Linked DNA regions of Homo sapiens: all the other regions are linked to region 1. The links are contacts of gene promoters, found by promoter capture Hi-C in human tissues and cell types (Jung and others, 2019). All regions are on one chromosome and are shown on one strand. Each heading gives the region's core, a stretch centred on a gene start or on the middle of the fragment in contact. The rest is flanking DNA. Distances are from core to core; before and after follow the strand shown. Region 1 holds the start of NTF3 (neurotrophin 3). Region 2 overlaps ANO2 (anoctamin 2). Region 3 has its middle 18 kb from the start of KCNA5. Region 4 overlaps ANO2 (anoctamin 2).

Region 1 (2,866 bases), core at 139-2,638:
AAGCAGAATCCTACTCCCCCATCCCATGCCCTCGGCCCTCGCCCCTCCTGTCCCTAACCTTCAACTCCCAAGCGTCCCAAATTTCATCAGGAGCATCCACCACTGAGTAAAGCTCTGGGGCAATGGGACAGTTCGGTCCGTCGTGGGACCTTTAAACTCCGACCTGGCTGGCTGCGCGGGTGCCCAGGTCTCCCGGCCTCCCACGCCACCGCTCAAAGTCCGAGAACAGGCTGGACGATACCGCAAGGAGATCCCCTGGGATGGCCGGGCCCGGGTGCCCGCCGCTCCCCGGAGGGGTCCCAGATGTGCGGGCTGCGTACGGAGCTCCAACATCTGCGCAAAGGCCCAGGGTGGGGTGGCCACCGGGTGGGCGCTGGCCAAGAGGAGCCCGGGGCGCGAGGTCTTTTCTGAAAAAACCCTTTCGGGGAACTCCAACGCAGGTACGCGGCGCGTGGCAGTGAGTCCCAACTCCCAAAACTGGAACGCGAGGTTCCGGGTCCTGAGCTGCGCGTCCCCTCCCCCCAGCCCACGCCCGGGCCAGAGTGGTGCTGGGGCGAGCTGAGAATCAGGCTCAGCGGCCGGCAGAGTGCAGGGCGTGTGCAGGGGAGCTGCCGCGGCACCTCCCCGCCCGGAGTTCTGTCTGCCACCCCCTTTTGTTATAGGATGCGCTAGGAGCTTTCTCGGAGGAGCAGGCGGGTCGGTTGGGAGTGGTGGGTGGTTGATTCTGTTGAATCTCTTTCCTGCTCTTTCGTCGTCCCCATTTCCCCTCTTCTGCCCCCACCCTTTCCAATCCAGGTCCCTTAAACCTGATCACTTTCCCAGATTGAGGGAAGCTTCTTGGGCAGCCGAGGGACAAGAGGGGAGGAGGTGGAGAAGGGTGTCCGTGTCTGTGTGTGTGTGTGTGTGTGTGTGTGTGTGTGTGTGTGTGTGTGTGTGTGTAGCGGGGTGGCTGCGGTTGCGCTTCGGCCTGAGCAGATCCCAGCGCAAACTTTGGGGAAGACACAAGCCCGGGAAAGTGAGTGAGCGCGGCGCGATGGGGGTGGGGCGGGATGCGGATCTGGGGCCCCCCGCACCAGTCCACTGGAAAATCCCTCCCCACGTGGACCCCCATCCCCAAACCTGCCCACCCAAGGTGCCCGCCGCCTCCCCTTACCGTGGCAAAAGTAACCATGGCATCCGTGTGGCCGTTTCCAGGGACGTCGACATGAAGAGAAAGGTGGACGCGAGCTCGGTCATTCAAAGTCTCCCCCACCCCGCCGCAGCCACTACCCAGCAGGGGAAAAAGGAGAGGAAGAAAGAAAGGAGAGAGAAGAAAGTAGTTGCGCCGGGCTGCGTCGCGGGGCGGTGCGCGGAGCTGTTCGGAAGGGAGAGGAGCTTCAACTCTGAGTCCCGTGAACAGAATCTGCGCGGTTATAACCAGCCAACCCGGCCAGATGGCTCCGCGCTCAGCGCCTTAACCCCTTCCGCGCCGCGCCGCCCTCCCCCGCCGGCCCGCGCCGCGCCGCGCGCGCCCGCGCCCCAGAGCCCCCCCCCCGCCCTCACTTCGGGACCCGTGGCGGGGAAGGGGTCATTTCTCCTGGCCCCTCTTGAAAAACAAAACCAAACCAAACAACAACAGCAACAAAAACTTCCAAATCTGTAGTATTCTTCAGTAACCCCCACCCTTGAGTTCCCTTTTAGAGATCCAGGAAAAAACGAAACGTTAAATGTATCGTAACAGGTTACATGTTAGTGTCTTCAGCCTTTCTTAGTGGTTCTTTTTCTTGAAATTTTTCTTTTTGATCTTTTTTCTTTCAAGATTTTCTTTACAAGGCATCAGGGCCTTTTCCTGCCTTTTTCCTCAGGAGGATCAGGTCTGAGGCGTAAACTCCTCCTCCAAACCTTAGACCCTTCCAGCTCCAGATCTCTCCCCACCCCCTACCAAGCCCACCCGCCACTCCTCCCCCCACCCCACAGCACGAACACGCCCAAGGACAATCGCTCCCCGGCGAACTCCCCGCTCCCGGGGACCCGCACCCAGGACGCTGTGTCGGCGGTCAAGGGAGGTCAAGGTAGAGGGGCGTGGGGGCGGGTGGTCCGAGGGACTAGGGAGGGGCTGTGTGTGCGCGCGCGTGTTTGCGGGAGCTTGAGTGTGGAAGGGAGAGGGAGATGGATCGCAGCCTCCCATTTCACCCATCCTCCAACTTCTAAACCCCTTCCTTCCAAACTAGGATGGGGCCCTGCAGCTAATCACTCGCCCAGCACCCACCAGTCTGCACGCGGGGACAGCGCGAGAAGCAGGAAAGGCGAGCAACAAACAAACCTGTTCGTGGCGCCCCGAAAGTAATGACGCTCACTTCCCCACCGGTGGATACATTCGAGGAGAGGATAGGGGGAGGGGGTCAAAATCTCTTATTTGGAGATAATTTTAGCTGCCCGTTAGACCTCACTTGCTCCGAGCCGTTCTCTCTAAATTTACCAAGTTAAGTCATCTTGATTTCGCCCATTTGCCATCGAGAGAAGGGGGAAAAATACCACTTAGTGATCAACGAGAAATCGAGAGCCCGGAAGCAGAGTTTTGCCCACTTGCCCGCTTCCCGAGTCCTTGCGTGGTGGACCTCCGCTCCAAGCCCCTCATCCCTTCCTCCCTGCCACTTCAGCCGCTCCTCACATCATCTCCTGCCAGGACCTTTTGACTCACGCGCGACTGGGAAGGGCAGCGAGTATCCCGTTTCCTCCCTGCCCTGTCGTTCGAGGTGTCTAATAAGCAAGCCGTTCCGCGTTTCGGTTAGGGCCCAGGTTCAAAAAATCCAAATACCTTGAAATTGCTTGAGAATTTGGTTAAACATCGGAACTGCACCCACCAGTTCAGGACCAACCGGCCGCA
Region 2 (2,866 bases), core at 242-2,741, 380 kb before region 1:
TTTAGCCATGCAGACAGACGTGGAAACAGATTGTGATGAGGCAATGTGGTAGGTGCTATAATAGAGATACATACAGAGTGCAGTTGGGACACAGGGGAGGAGGCAATTAATGTCCATGTGTATGTCTCTATATGTCTAAGTATCAATGTAAATCATTGCTCCCAGGAAACTTACGTATGTCAGGAGTGATCATCTCCAATTACAGATGGGCACAAAGAGGATACGTGACTTGCCCAGGGTTACATCTTGAGTCAGAAATGAGTCTAGAACTTGGGTACTCTTGCTCTAATCGTATTTCCAATACCTTTGGGATGCTACAGAGTAGGAGTGGAATTAGGCTGAGTCTTTAGAGTCTGTTAACTTCACAGTAGCCACTGAGGACTTACTAGCTTTGTAACAAGAGACATGTGACTGAACTCTACTTCTCAGCAGAGGAGAACCCAAAGGCCAGATTTCCAGTGGGTTGACTTCTGCCCATGAAGACCAAGTGCCCTCTAAGCTCTTTGGTGAACTTACCAATCTTATTTAGAAGATAAAAAAAAAATGAGGAATGTGATAACTCCATGAGGCCCCAAGATAATATGGAGGCCTGAGCCACAGGGTAAATTTAGATTTTATTGCCTTTCTTTCTGGCTTATAAGGGGTGGAAGAGAAGCATGAGTGACTAGAATCGGCTTATATTCCTCCAGAAGGTTGTTTCCTCATTAAAAAAAAAAAAGAGAGAGAGAGAAAGGGAGAACAGGACTGGATTTGGAATCGTAGGTGTTTTCATTGATCCTTCACCCTCAGATTATCTTTTGTATGGTCATTTCTTTTGCAACCAACTTACAAAGCTAATTCTCTTTCCCATTGTACCCAATTTAAATATTAGAAAATAGAAAAGATACTAAAGATAGTAATAACTTGGAAACACTCCTGTTTATCTAGTAATGTCTCTTTTTTCTTTGTAGACAATACGTTTTTATTGAATGCCTACTTTTACAAAGCTTTAACCTATATACAAGTAGTATGTAGTGATATATTTATATTCCTGCCTTGTTCCACAAAATTTCTGGGGTAGCTTACAAGAAAAACAATAAGACAGCATAGTATAAAAATAAATTGAAAAATAAGAACCAGAGAAAATAAATTAAAATAGAATGTCAAAACTAGGAGGAAGAAAATAGAACACATATGCAAACCATAATGTCTTCTAGTTTCTACAGTTGAACTGCAAATTTAACCTTGAACCAAAGTGAAAGGGGGAATATGGTCAGGGGTGTAGCTCTTGCTGCCTACAGCAATATCTTTCTGTACAGAAATCTTTCTAAAGTCTATCACACAATTTCCTGCTTGCTTATGTAGAACATGTCTACATATATTCTCCACATAAAGGCGTCTTATGTAGAACATGTCTACATATATTCTCCACATAAAGGCGTATGACAAATTTTCTGGATTATTCAAGATCATCATTAAGAACATAATGATTTTCATGTTCTCTCAAGAATTATCAAAGCATTATTAGGATTGTTTGCCCCACACTGCTCTGATTTCTTGAATTCTTGACTCTGGTAACCTCCCTCCCCGAGTTTTGCTATCTCAGTTTCACTTTGCAGTGTGGGAGATGGAAAAACAAGCTCATTAGAATTTTGGGTAAAGAGAGTGTAAAATGCATGGCAGGAGGTCTGAAGGATTCTGCTGTGGAAAAGGGACATCGCATTAGAAAGTAGGTTTTGTGAGATCTATTTTAGCTGCTCATTTATTTTTTTCTTGTTTCTGGGTTTTCTGTTGTGAGAGCTGAGATAACCAGATAAGAGGCCTCTGATAAATGAGGTGTTACTGTCACCAAAGTAATAAGGACTCCTTGCATGCTTGCAGTTGTATGTTTTTCAAAACACCTTAACGCTCATTATCTCATTTGATCCTTTAAACTGCCAGCAAAGTAGCTTCAGCAGATGTTAATTAACTTCACAACAGAGAGATTAACTGGCATACACACAGCTAGAACTTTGGAAATGGGTTTAGAACTTAGGTTTCTTGACTCTTTGTCATTGCTTTTTAACTAATTTAATTAGGAAATGGATAAAGTTATTGGAAAAAGTTTCCCAGAAGAGGTGGAAGCTGAGCCCTTCCCAGTATAACATCCATTCACTCATTCAACACGTATTTACTGAGCACTTACTATGTGACATTCATGTTGTGGACCTGGGGAATGGAGTAGTGAATCCAACAGACACAAATTCCTGCCCTTAAGGGGCTTACTTTCTAGTTACGGAAGACAGAAAATAAACCAAGAAGTAAATACAATGGATAGGATGTCGTGTAGGGATAAGGGTCAGGAGAAAGAATAGAGCAAATAAAGGAGATGAAAATGAAGTGGGAGTGGGAAGGTATTTTAAATAGAGTAGTCGGAGAAGGTCTTCCTGATGTAATATTTGAGGAAAACAGGGAGCAAGCCACATGGCTGTGAGAAGACAGATACATGCAAGGAAAGCAAATAACACAGAAGACATGGTGGTGGCAATTCCAGATAACCAGTTAGGGTCCCAATAGGAACAAATAGCACACCCCAATTAGGGTAATTCAAGGTGGGCATATGTATAGAGAAACCATTTACAAAGGGATTGGCAGGGAGTTGGGGAATGCCAGGGACGGCGTTGTAACCTGGAATTAACAATAGTAGAGCTCTTATCATCCCTAGACCTGCAGAAAGATAGAGAGGTCACTGCAACGTGGAATTGGGTAGAGGAGGTGACCTTGAGCAGGTGACTATTTAGGCAGAAGGCCAGGGGTCTCAATACTGCTGATGGCAGTAGGAAGCCAGAGAGCACAGCAGCCTGTTCATGTCAGATAGAGGACCGTAGAGAGTATATCTGGAAGGGGA
Region 3 (2,866 bases), core at 238-2,737, 370 kb after region 1:
GAGACCTTAGGCAAATATCTTTCTCCTGCCTCATTTATAGTTCGAAATGGCAATAATAGTAGTACCTACTCCCTGATTGTTTTGAGGAGTGAATGAGATAGTACACAGAAAACACTTAAGGCTGGTACGGTGGTTCACACCTGTAATTCCAGCACTTTGGGAGGCCAAGGCAAGTAGGTCGCTTGAGCCCAGGGGTTTGAGACCAGCCTGGGCAACATAATGAAACTGTCTCTACAAAAACAAAACAAAACAAAACCACACACTTAAAACAGTCTCTGGCAAATATAAATGCTCAATAAATATTAGGTAACTACAGTTTGCTTGCAGATTGTGGGTAACCAAGGGAGAAGTTTTAATTTTGTCTTTTGTAAAATAGAGGAAAGGTTCTATGCCTTACACTTATCCTAGGAGGCAACTTTGAGAGTTAAGACAAAAATAATTTTCTAACTGCAGTATAACTGTTAAGAAAAGTTTTGGCTATGCCTAGAGATAGTGACCTTATAACTAGAGACAATGAGCTTGTTGAAGGAATCAGGACATAAACCATGGAGACCTTTGGCAGTGGAGAACTGATCTTAAAGCATGTAGGACCAAAAGATATTAAGTGGACATCCCAATAGCAGTCTATTTTAGTGAGGAAAAAACTCCAGAGGTCTAGCATGTCACACTTGAGTCAGTTCATGGACTCAGAGCCTGTCCAAAGAAGAAGAGTTCAGGTGAAATACAACGGTTGGAAGAGGACAAACTTTGCAGCCAGAATGCCTAAGCTTCAATCCCAGGTAATTCATGACTTGCCATATAACTTGGGCAAGTTACTTAACCTCTCTGGGTTCCAGCTTATCTGTAACATGGGAATCATAATAGGACACCAGTTTTCCAGCGTTATTACAAGGGATGAATGTATAATAGTACATGGTAACACTGTGTATGTGTTAGGTATAATTAAAATGATTGAAAATTGTCACCTCTAGCCATGGAAAAGTGGCTATCCATTTTTCTTAAAAGGGAGATAATCTGAAATAAGAGCCTCTATAAAATAATAGAAAGTTGTCAATATTTTCACTCCTTAGTCAAGGACCTAGAAAGGCCAAAATTGTAAGGGTGGTGGCATGGATATTCAAGGAAGAGGTGTAAGGAGAAATCCTTCTGAAGGGGCGCAGAGTGTGTGAGTGCCACCATAAGGCCCCATAGGGAGCTGGAGCTTAGCACTCAGATCGACCAGATGACCCTCACTAGGATGTCATTCCGCCTCCTTCTTTGCTTTCCAAAAACCTACTGTACTAGGAGCAATTCTGCCTGCTGAGCTTAATCAGACAAGATTCATTAGTGCTTCCAATGAAGAGGTCCAACTAATAATGCAGACTCCCGAGACCCAGTAAGCTAGAAGATCTGGGGAGAGGGCCCAGTAAGCTTGATTTCTGGAAGCATCCCAAGTGATTTTTACACATCCTGAAATTTGAGAACACTGCCATTGTTGGACTCTGAGACCCCTTGCAACTCTGACAGTCTCTGATTCTGTGGTTGTCTGGTTGGATAAACTCCTGAGATCATCCCATGTTGTCAGATCCAATGGACACAGTTTCCAGAGGCTGAAGCCATCCCTCAGATGTGGAGATGACAGGACAGCAGATACCCCAGAGCCCTCGTCCCATCCCTCTCCCCATGCCCATACACACTCCCATCTGGCATAGGTGTATCACCTGGGTCTGGGGTCAAGGGAGCTGGCACCCTCTCTCCTGGTAAAAGTAACCTTTCCTTTTCCAGGAGCCCTAACTACCTCGTAGAGGGAAAAATATCATAACATCTCACTGCCCTTCACGAGCATGTGAATTTCCAGCAAAAGATAAGCATGGTATTACTGAATATGTGATTTGGGTCTCCCATTTAAAACAAGAGGCAACAACTTCCCTTCCTTCCCAGAATGGGACGGAGAAATAAATTATGACCTAAAACATCCAAGTTGTTTCTAGAATCACCATCAGCATTTATAGTAAGAGAGCAAAATATTTGTACCTCCCTGTGATGGCAGCACATTGGCAGGCTTCCTTCTGGCTATGAAAATGTGCTTGCTTGGATTTGCTGAGTGCTCCCAGGCAACCCTGGACATGGTCGTGGCCCCCTGGTGTAGAGGAGTCAGGCCACAGGCTAGCAGGAGCTGGATAGAGCACTCTGAAGGCCTATTTGTGGGGAACATCAGCAGCTGTGCGGAAATGGAGGTGAGCAGAGAGGAGGGGAAATCTTTCTCAGGCAGAGCAGCAGATGGGGGAGTGGGAGCCTCCTCCTGCCTCCACCACGACAAAACCTTATCTCTGGTTTCCCTGCCTCAGCTCTCCGACATGCCATTCTCACCAGTCTTCCTAAAATACCACTTTCATTATGTTAATTCCCCTCTGCTTTATTTTCCATTTTTTAGAGATGGGGTCTCCCTCTGTCACCCAGACTAGAGTACAGTCACCCTATCACAGCTCACTGCAGCCTTGATCTCCTGGGCACAAGAGATCCTCCCATCCCTTGCACTAGCTGGCACAACAGGTGCAAGCCACCATGCTTGACTAAGTTTTCTACTTTTTAGAGAGATAGGGTCTTGCTATGTTGCCCAGGTCAGTGTCAATCTTCTGGCCTCAAGCTATCCTCCTGCCCCAGCCTCCCAAAGCATTGGGATTACAGGCGTGAGCTACCACATCTGGCCTTAATTCTCATGAGAGCTCCACAGCTGTCTTCACCTAAAGTATAGCATCGGTTCAAAATTCCTCAGTTTGTTCAAAGCCTACCACAGCCTGCCTCAACTTGACTTCCCAAATTTGGCTCACAAAATTCCCACAAACAGTCTCACATGCTTGCCAACCTTCTGCTCAAGCAACAACAG
Region 4 (2,866 bases), core at 240-2,739, 280 kb before region 1:
TCGTCCAGCTTTCTTCCAGGAAGGTCTATAAACTTTCTGTTTTTACACTGACCCCTCTTGGCTATTTAATTCCTGTGTTGTCACAATGCCGATGACAATGTTGGCACCCAGGGTAGGGGGGATTTAGCATTGCCCTTAGCCACCTGCCAAAGTTCCTCCAAACAGGAACCATCACTTAGCCCTCTGCTTTCTGGAAGGGAATGTTTAAAGAACTTCGAGACCCACAGAGAACTTTAAACACTAAAGTTTATCTCATATCTATATACGTGGAGTAAAAATAATGTTAAAGAAGTAAAACAAGAATAAATGCATGTGGTTCATTCTTGTTAAATGACACCACTTTTGAACAACCCAGTTGTCTACACCAGAAACTTTGGAGCTGTTTTGAATTGCTCCTTTCCTCTTACTTGCCACACCCGACGAGCACCATGGCAGGGTTGAACCACTCACCATCTCTGGTATTTACCCCTTCCTGCTCATCCCCTGAGTTCAGGGCCTCATCACCACTTGCCTGGCCTACTTCAGTGACCCTCTAACTGGTCTCTCCTCCTTTGTCAGGCCCCCTTCCAGTCCATTCTCCACACTGTGTCAGAGGTATCCATCCAGAATGCAGATCTGATTATGTGACTCCCTTGATTAAAATCCTCTCATGCTCTCCAGAGTTTAGGAGATTATTTTCAAATTTCTTGGCTTTACCCACAAGGCTCTATGTGGCCCACCTCTCCAACTTCACCTCCCACTCCCTGACATGAGCCTCTTCTGCCGAACATTTCCCAGCTCCTGGCAGCTCTCTGAGCGTCTCTTGGTGTGTCATGCGTTGGTGGCTGTGCACATGCAAAAGCCTCTTTGCTTGGAACCTGCTTTCCCTCTCTCTATCCAGCACACTCCTTCTTGTCCTAGAAAACTTAGGGCTAATGACATCTGCTCTGGGAGGTCATCTCTCACTCTCTGGGCAGGCTTAGCTCTTGGCTCTTGTATTCATCTCCCATGGCTGCTGCAACAAGTGACTGCAAACGGGAGGGCTTAAAACAACACAAGTTCATTCTCTCATAGTTCTGGAGGCCAGAAGTCCAAGGTCAAGGTGTCATCAGGCCCACGTTCCCTCTGAAGTCTCTAGGAGAGAATCCATCTTTGCCTCTTCCAGCCCTTGGTGGCTCCAGGCATTTCTTAAATTGTGGCTAAACCACTCCAATCGCTGCTTCCATCTTTACATGGCTCTCTCCTGTATCTGTCTCTTCTCCCCTCTGTCACTTACAAGGACACTGGGAAGTAGACTCAGGGCCTACCCTAAATCCATGATGATCTCATCTTGAGATCCTTAACTTGGTTACATTTGCAAAGACTTTTTTTTTTTTTCCAAGTCAGGTCGTATTCACAGGTTCCTGGGGTTAGAACCCGGGCCTATCATTTAGTGGGTGGAGCACAATTCAACTGCTTACTACCCTGTAGCAACCTGTATATTCCTTTTAGGAGAAATTTTACTATAGATGTTTTAAAGCATTAATTGATACTCCTATCTTTCCTTCAAGATGAACTATCTTTGAGAGCTTCTGTTTGACCTTGTTTCTTTGGCTTCTAGCACAGGGCCTCACTGCAGCTCGGCACAACATTTTGGTTAAATGTAAGAAATAACTACCTAAGGGCCGTTAGTAGGTCCTTATCATTAACTTGGGCTGATATACGTGTGCTTGGAGATAGGATTTGGACACCATGACCTCTGAAAAGCCTGTTCAGTCAAGAAGTCTGTTTCTGCAGTTTTGTTTGCTTCAGAAGTACATTTTTAGGCTAATTGATTTCAAGGAATATCCAAAGGAGGGCCTTGGAATATTACAAATCATGGGGAGGAACCCAAACTCGTTAATCTACATTCTAGTCTGTATTGTCTAATGTATGATGATTGCGTGCACATTATTTTTAAAGTTCCCAAGTGGCTGAAAGGGAGCAGTTTCACATTTTTGAGCATGTACAGGCACTGTCTGGATTCCCCATATTTCAAATGAGAGCTTGGATTTCAAAAAGAGGAGCAGGTCTTGGGGAACTGGTCAGTAAATTAAAGTGTCTTACGTATATGAGACCTGCAATTTTTATTCTCTGGGCCTCTGTATGAATTAGTTTTGCATTGCCATACAGGAATATCTGAGACCGGGTAATTTATAAAGAAAAGAGATTCATGTGGCTTATGGTTCTGCAGGCTGTACAAGCATGGCACCAGCATCTGCTTGGCCGCTGGGGAGGCCTCAGGAAGCTTTCATGGTGGAAGGTGAAGAGGGAGCGGGCTTGTTACATGGCAAGAGAGGAAGCAAGAGAGGGCAGAGGGAGGTCCCAGTCTCTTTAACCAGCTCTCACATGAACTAATAGAGTGAGAACTTGCTGATCACCATGAGAATGGCACCAAGACATTCCTGAGGGATCTGCCCCTATGACTTATACACCTCCCACCAGGCTCTACCTCCAACATTAGGGATCAATTTTTTTTTTTTTTTTTGAGACAGAGTCTCGCTCTGTCGCCCAGGCTGGAGTACAGTGGCGCGATCTCTGCTCACTGCAAGCTCTGCCTCCCAGGTTCATGCCATTCTCCTGCCTCAGCCTCCTGAGTAGCTGGGACTACAGGCACATGCCACCACGCCCGGCTAATTTTTTGTATTTTTAGTAGAGACGGGGTTTCACCGTGTTAGCCAGGATGGTCTCGATCTCCTGACCTCGTGATCCCGCCTCGGCCTCCCAAAGTGCTGGGATTACAGGTGTGAGCCACCGCGCCCGGCCCAGGGATCAATTTCAAAATGAGATTTGGAGGAGACAAACATTCATACTCTATCAGCCTCAGTTTATTTTTTTTCTTTAAACAGAATTGATAGGAACATGACTC

Evidence for each region. Contacts are between HindIII fragments. The study calls those that stand out against the background at their distance.
Region 2: a fragment that was not itself captured here is called in contact with the fragment with the promoter of NTF3 in region 1 in 1 of the 25 tissues and cell types used here (aorta).
Region 3: a fragment that was not itself captured here is called in contact with the fragment with the promoter of NTF3 in region 1 in 1 of the 25 tissues and cell types used here (bladder).
Region 4: a contact is called between a fragment that was not itself captured here and the fragment with the promoter of NTF3 in region 1, in 2 of the 25 tissues and cell types used here (H1 embryonic stem cells and mesendoderm cells).

The regions. Positions count from the first base shown.
Region 1 is chr12:5,430,630-5,433,495 of GRCh38, reverse strand. NTF3 (neurotrophin 3) reads right to left here and starts at 1,388. Exons shown (of 2, transcript NM_001102654.2): 1 at 1,154-1,388. The coding sequence starts at 1,171. RefSeq lists an enhancer at 46-571. The HindIII fragment of the contact is 6,917 bases long and covers 1-2,866 here.
Region 2 is chr12:5,814,003-5,816,868 of GRCh38, reverse strand. The region is part of intron 7 of ANO2 (anoctamin 2); the gene reads left to right. Among named protein-coding and RNA genes, the nearest start is that of ANO2, 130 kb to the left of the region's middle. The HindIII fragment of the contact is 5,930 bases long and covers 1-2,866 here.
Region 3 is chr12:5,060,381-5,063,246 of GRCh38, reverse strand. No RefSeq gene overlaps it. Among named protein-coding and RNA genes, the nearest start is that of KCNA5, 18 kb to the right of the region's middle. The HindIII fragment of the contact is 3,669 bases long and covers 1-2,866 here.
Region 4 is chr12:5,710,777-5,713,642 of GRCh38, reverse strand. The region is part of intron 14 of ANO2 (anoctamin 2); the gene reads left to right. Among named protein-coding and RNA genes, the nearest start is that of ANO2, 230 kb to the left of the region's middle. The HindIII fragment of the contact is 3,942 bases long and covers 1-2,866 here.